Regions from separate parts of the Homo sapiens genome. Here region 2 is linked to region 1. Evidence: promoter capture Hi-C in 16 types of primary human blood cells and fetal thymus (Javierre and others, 2016). All regions are on one chromosome and are shown on one strand. The core of a region is centred on a gene start or on the middle of the fragment in contact, and the rest is flanking DNA. Distances in the headings are between cores, read along the strand shown.

Evidence for each region. Contacts are between HindIII fragments. The CHiCAGO score rates a contact against its expected background, and 5 or more counts as called.
Region 2: a fragment that was not itself captured here is called in contact with the fragment with the promoter of WWC2-AS2 in region 1 in 1 of 17 cell types (monocytes); the score reaches 5.2 in monocytes.

Annotation. Positions count from the first base shown.
Region 1 is chr4:183,097,722-183,100,496 of GRCh38, forward strand. WWC2-AS2 (WWC2 antisense RNA 2) reads right to left here and starts at 1,478. Exons shown (of 1, transcript NR_024008.1): 1 at 1-1,478. WWC2 (WW and C2 domain containing 2) reads left to right here and starts at 1,536. Exons shown (of 23, transcript NM_024949.6): 1 at 1,536-1,901. The coding sequence starts at 1,771. RefSeq lists an enhancer at 295-589 and a silencer at 295-589. The HindIII fragment of the contact is 3,980 bases long and covers 384-2,775 here.
Region 2 is chr4:183,448,808-183,451,585 of GRCh38, forward strand. CDKN2AIP (CDKN2A interacting protein) reads left to right here. Exons shown (of 3, transcript NM_017632.4): 3 at 1-257. Among named protein-coding and RNA genes, the nearest start is that of CDKN2AIP, 5.6 kb to the left of the region's middle. The HindIII fragment of the contact is 4,907 bases long and covers 1-2,778 here.

The sequences.
Region 1 (2,775 bases), core at 228-2,727:
AAAGCTGTCCCCAGCCCCGGACAGCTACTGCCCACGCCGCGCAGGCCAGCCTCACACAGTAGCGAATCTCCTTCACGCGACTTCCTCGCAGGCCTGTGAACCCGCAGGGGAGGCGGAGGTCGGTTCAAACCCTGCGAGAGCCCCTGCCCAGCGCGGAGTCCTGCACACGGTGGAAAGTCCTTACGCATTAGCGGGCAGGATTAAACGACTTCACACCACGAGGTGCAAGACTGGGCTTCGGGGCCTTCCTCGGTGTTGCTATTTTAAAAGAAGCTGCTCAGTAACCCAGAAGAAGATGACGGGGGACGGTGGTGTAGACCCGGCTGGAGAGGAGTCCAGGGCCTGGGAGGCGCCCCCTCTGACTGAGGGGCTGGGGACCCTGAAGCTTGGCGTCCAGGCCCCGCCAGCGCTGCACCCGGCATTGTCCCGCCTGGGGCAGGCGTCCGGTCCCTCGGCAGTGCGGGCCAGCACGTACGTAGTAGCTGCTGAATAAATAAATGCCTATGCAACAGGGAACGTCCCGGCCCACCCCGGCCGGGCCAGGGCCTAGGAAGGGCGGGCGTCCGGCGCCGCCGTGGGTCCCTCCGGCGTGGCCGCCCACACCTCCTGGCCACGGCGGGGCTGCGGTGGGGGGACATCCTGGGGCGGGCGGCTGGACGGAAGGGACTAGAGTCGGGGCGCGTCCACGGCCAACCGCCCCGAACCAAGCAGGGGAGGCCAGGGACCAGGAGCTTCCGGGGCCCCGCGGCTGGAGCGCCCGGACGCGAAGGGGCGGCGGGTGACGGGGCGCGGTGCGGGCGGCTACAGGGCCGGACGGGAGTTCCTCCGCTTTCCGCCGCGCGGCTCGCGGTCTCAGCCGAGGTCATCGAGGGCCAGGAGCCCTGGCGGAGGCCCCGCCGTCCCGGACCCACCGACGCACTCCCAGGGCTTGGCGCTTTCCCACCACCCCGGACCGCCCTTGGGGTGCCGGAGGGGCTCGGGGCGCGGCGTGGGGAGCCTTTGTGCCCTCTCCGCTTGTTGAGGTTTTTTCTCCGGAGGAGAGCTCCCCGCCCGCCACCCCTTTCCTCTCGAAAGTTTTGTGGTTTCCCTAGAAGACGAAAGAGGTTGAGAAGGTTGCGGAGACTTTTGCAATCTTCCCCGTCCAGAAACTCTAAAACCTCTCGGCGTTTGGCCCAGGGGAGCTATCTGGGGTCAAGGGGAGGGAGCTGGCCGCACATTCCTTCGCCCGCCTTCCTCCCACCTGGAGCCGCGGCCCCGCGGGGCAGTGCGTCCGAGCTGGTGCGGCGACGCCGGCAGCGGCGGGGTTAAGCTCAGGAATGCGGCGCGAGGAATGCGCATGCAGATGAGGCGGGCGGGCGCATGCTAATCGCATGCAAATGAGGGGCCCGCCGCTGCCGCGGCAGCGCCGCAGCTTCCCGGATCCGAGCCCAGACGGCGGCGGCTCCGGCAGCCTGGGCGCCGCGACCCTCGGCGGCCAGAGGGGGACGGGGCGGAGGAGGAGGAAGAGGCGGAGGCAGCGGCGGCGAGGGGGAGGAGGGTTCGCTCGCCGGCTCCGACGCAGACATGGTGGACTGATCCGCAGCGGGGCCGCGAACAGCGTTTCCTGAGGCACCTCCCGCGCGTGGTTCCGCCGCGCCCCGCGCCCTGCGCCCCTCAGCCCCTCGCCGGCGCCCGCGTCGCGGGTTGGCAGCCTAGCCCGGCAGCCGCGTTCCCGCCGCGTCCCGCGCCCGGTACCTATGGAGGCGCCGCTCGCCGGCGAGGCCGCCGACCATGCCTAGGAGGGCCGGGAGCGGTCAGCTGCCGCTGCCCCGGGGCTGGGAGGAGGCCAGGGACTACGACGGCAAGGTCTTCTACATTGACCACAACACCAGGAGGACCAGCTGGATCGACCCCCGGGACAGGTGGGCGCCGGCCGCGGGGGCGCGGGCCCGTTCGGACACGGCGGCTGTTGTCCCGGAGACCCGGCCGCGCGGGGGGCTGGGGCGGCGCCGGCCCGCGGTGCCCCGAGGGGTCCCGGGAGGGATGTGGGGCTGGCTGCTCCGGCGGGGCCGAGGAGCCGCCCGTACCCGGGCTCCTCCGCCCACCGGCTTCCCGACGCCCCTCCGGGGACCCGGCCCCGAGGCAAGGCTGGAGTCGCTGCCCCGGGCCGACGCCGCGCGCCAGGCTAACGGACCCGAGGGGCCACCTGAGCCCTGTTAGGAACTTCCCTAGGCTTCGAGGTGCCCACGTGGAGGCTGCAGGACACCTTCGGCCTCTGGGCGGCGGGGGTGGGCTAGGGCCTCACTGCCAGTTGGGGAACGAGCCCTCCGGGCCACCTGTGGCATCCCTCAGGCCGTCCTTGGCGCGGGAGCCTGGGCTGCGAGCTCTTGGCGGGGGCGCCCAGACTGGCCGGAGGTCCCGAGCTGGGAAGGGGCTCCCGCCCCCCGCCGGGCCCTGCTAGTGGGTGTGACTGACTTTGCCCCTCAGAGTTTAAAAACGCGCGTTTGGGGGTTTCGCTGTCTGTCGTTAGTCTTCACCTGAAAACTTGAACCGACTCCCAGATCGGGAACAGGCATATTGTGTTTGGAAGGGAGATGTAGTGAAATTAACGTTGGGTATTGAGGCACTCTGATTTGAGCTTAGCCTGGTTTCTTTGTTTTTTGTTTTTTAAATTGGTTCAGGAACTGAAGGTTCACAAATGTTTCTGTGTCCCATATTTTTTTTACCCTTAAAATTTCTTAGAATTATTGTAAGAATAATAGGAGGTATTCCTAATTATAAATTTGTAAATTATCC
Region 2 (2,778 bases), core at 245-2,744, 350 kb after region 1:
CAGATGTTTTAATTTTACCATATAACCTTTAAAAATGATTCATTTTTGAGGATATTTAATTGGATACCAAAGCTAAAATCCATATACTGTAAGTGGGTTGCCTTTATAGATTGCGGGACACAATAACATGAATGTATTGTGAAAGCACTTTTAGTTACCTCACTTTCCTCAGTCTTGGAATGTGTATTTTGTGGGATAATGATTATCAGAAAAGCAAAAAATTACAACGAACAAATAAATTTATATAATATATCCAATTAGGTGGTTTGGTAATTTCCTAAATTGGCTTGTTTCAAGTTACTATGAAGGTTATTGAGAATGTTTTATAGTGACTTTTGATGTGGAGGAAGTTGTTTAGTGTACATTTATGATAATCCTATTTAAAAACCTAGAAAAATGCTCTTGGTTAATAACATTTAAAGAATCCTGGTTTAAGAGAAATGCATATTTTAGAATTCTATTATTGAGAGTGAATCTTGGCTGTCTCTTACTAGACATGTAACCTCTGGGAATTTAACCTTTTAACCTTACTTCGTCTGTGAAATAGGACTAATAGCTGTCTCATAGAGCATGGCAGTTAGATGAGATGATACATTCAAAGTGCCCGGCATGGTGCAGATATCCCATGGTTCACTTATATATTCTTATTCCTCTTACAAGGAGCTCTTCTCATTTGGCCTACTTTTCAGATGGAGAAACTTACACAGAGTAATTCGGTCAGATAATTCAAGCCCATATCTGATTTCAAAACCCAAGCTCAAGTATGTTGTACTGCTTATTATCCTTGTCACTTCTCTATATGCTGAAATTTCTGAAAATCCCTCCCAGAACGTGATTTTTTACCAGATTAAGTGACCGCATCTTTCTAAAGCCTCCTTGAAATGAGTCACTTCAGAGGCTCTTCTATTATTAATGCTTCTAATACTTGCATATCTTGAATATCCTCAACTAGTGAATCATCCCATATGGATGCAGTTGAACTTTGTAAAAAGACCATACACACACAAAAGAAATCTGCACAAAAAACCCCCCAAAACCAAAAAACCAAACACACCTGCCTAAAATAGTGTATAATCAAGTTGAGTGAATAAAGTCGGCTACCAAGATGGGATATACTGCTTTTTTCAGATGAGTGAGGGGAGACGATTTCCTGAGACATCAAGATTTTTCTTGATGTTAGAATGAGATTTTTTTTTTAATGGTAAAATTAGTTGACTTGTAAGAATGATACTGTCATGAGTTTTTGACCTAAATTCTTGGAGCCTGTCACTGCTGTCATTGGCTAGGATAATTGTCATAGGGATATGTGTAACTTTAAGGCCTTTGATATGTATTATCAGGAGCCTGCTCCAATTTGAATTATGTTTTCCCTGCCAAGTGCAGCTTTTCTTGGTACAAATTTCTACTTGCTGTTTAGATTTTTGAGTAACAGCAGTGAGAAAGTAACAAAAACAAGCCGCAATTGGGAATCAGGTCAGTCCTACAGGTATTGTGTTACTACTTTGTGGACTTTGTCCTCAAAAATTGTGCTGAAGTCCTATATTGACCTACTTTCTAGACATTGGTTATCCATTCCTGCATGATTTTTAAATAATATTTTCTGTGATTGATGAATAAACTATTTCACTTTCTACTAGAACAAAATGTTCAAGTTGAATGAAGGGTTAAGCCATTTATTGCCCAACTATTCCTCCCCAAGAAAAATATCAATCATATTTCTTTGGCATCCCTGCACACAGCTTAGTTGCCATCCAGTTAGAACCATTTCTTACTACCAACTTTAATTTTAATATCTCTCGATTTTCCTCCTTTTGTTTTTGTTTTGTTTTTTTGTTTGTTTTTTTTTTGAGACAGAGGGAGTCTTGCTCTGTCACCCAGGCTGGAGTGCAGTGGCGTGATCTCGGCTCACTGCAACCTCGGCCTCTTGGGGTCAAGCAATTCTCCTGCCTCAGCCTCCTGAGTAGCTGGGATTACAGGCGTGCATCACTACACCCAGCTAATTTTTTTGTATTTTTAGTAGAGACGGGGTTTCACCATGTTGGTCAGGTTGGTCTCGAACTCCTGATCTTGTGATCCACCTGCCTCAGCCTCCCAAATTGCTGGGATTACAGGCGTGAGCCACTGTGCCCAGCCGATTTTTCTCCTTTAAAAGTCATTATCTGAAAATTATTAGTTTTTAAAGTTCTTTTTCTGTTCCTTTGCTATTCATCTAGCAAGAAAAAGAGTAGACAAGGCCCCAAACTAAATGGACTTTTAACTTTGAAGGGAAAAAAGAAAAGTAATGCTAGGTTGGGCATGGTGGCCCACAACTGTAATGCCAGCACTTTGGGAGGCCAAGGCAGGCGGATCACCTGAAGTCAGGAGTTTGAGACCAGCCTGGCCAAAATGGTGAAACTTTATCTTATAAAACTACAACATTAGCTGGGCGTGGTGGTGCGTGCCTGTCACCCCAGCTACTTGGGAGGCTGAGATAGGAGAATCGCTTGAACCTGGGAGGTGGAGGTTGCAGTGAGCTATGATTGTGCCACTGCACTCCAGCCTGGGTGACAGAGTGAGACTCCGTGTCAAAAAAAAAAAAAAAGTAATACTAAACACAAAGGGTTGGATACAGGACATTTTGAGTAAAAACTAGAGATTACATATGCCAGTACTTAAGAAGCAATCAGAAATACTTTGTGAATTTGAAACTTTATTGAATAGAATCAGAATCCTTGGAGGTCTTAGGAAGCAACCAAACTAAACAATATAAGTAGTAAATACACTAAAGACTACCATTTT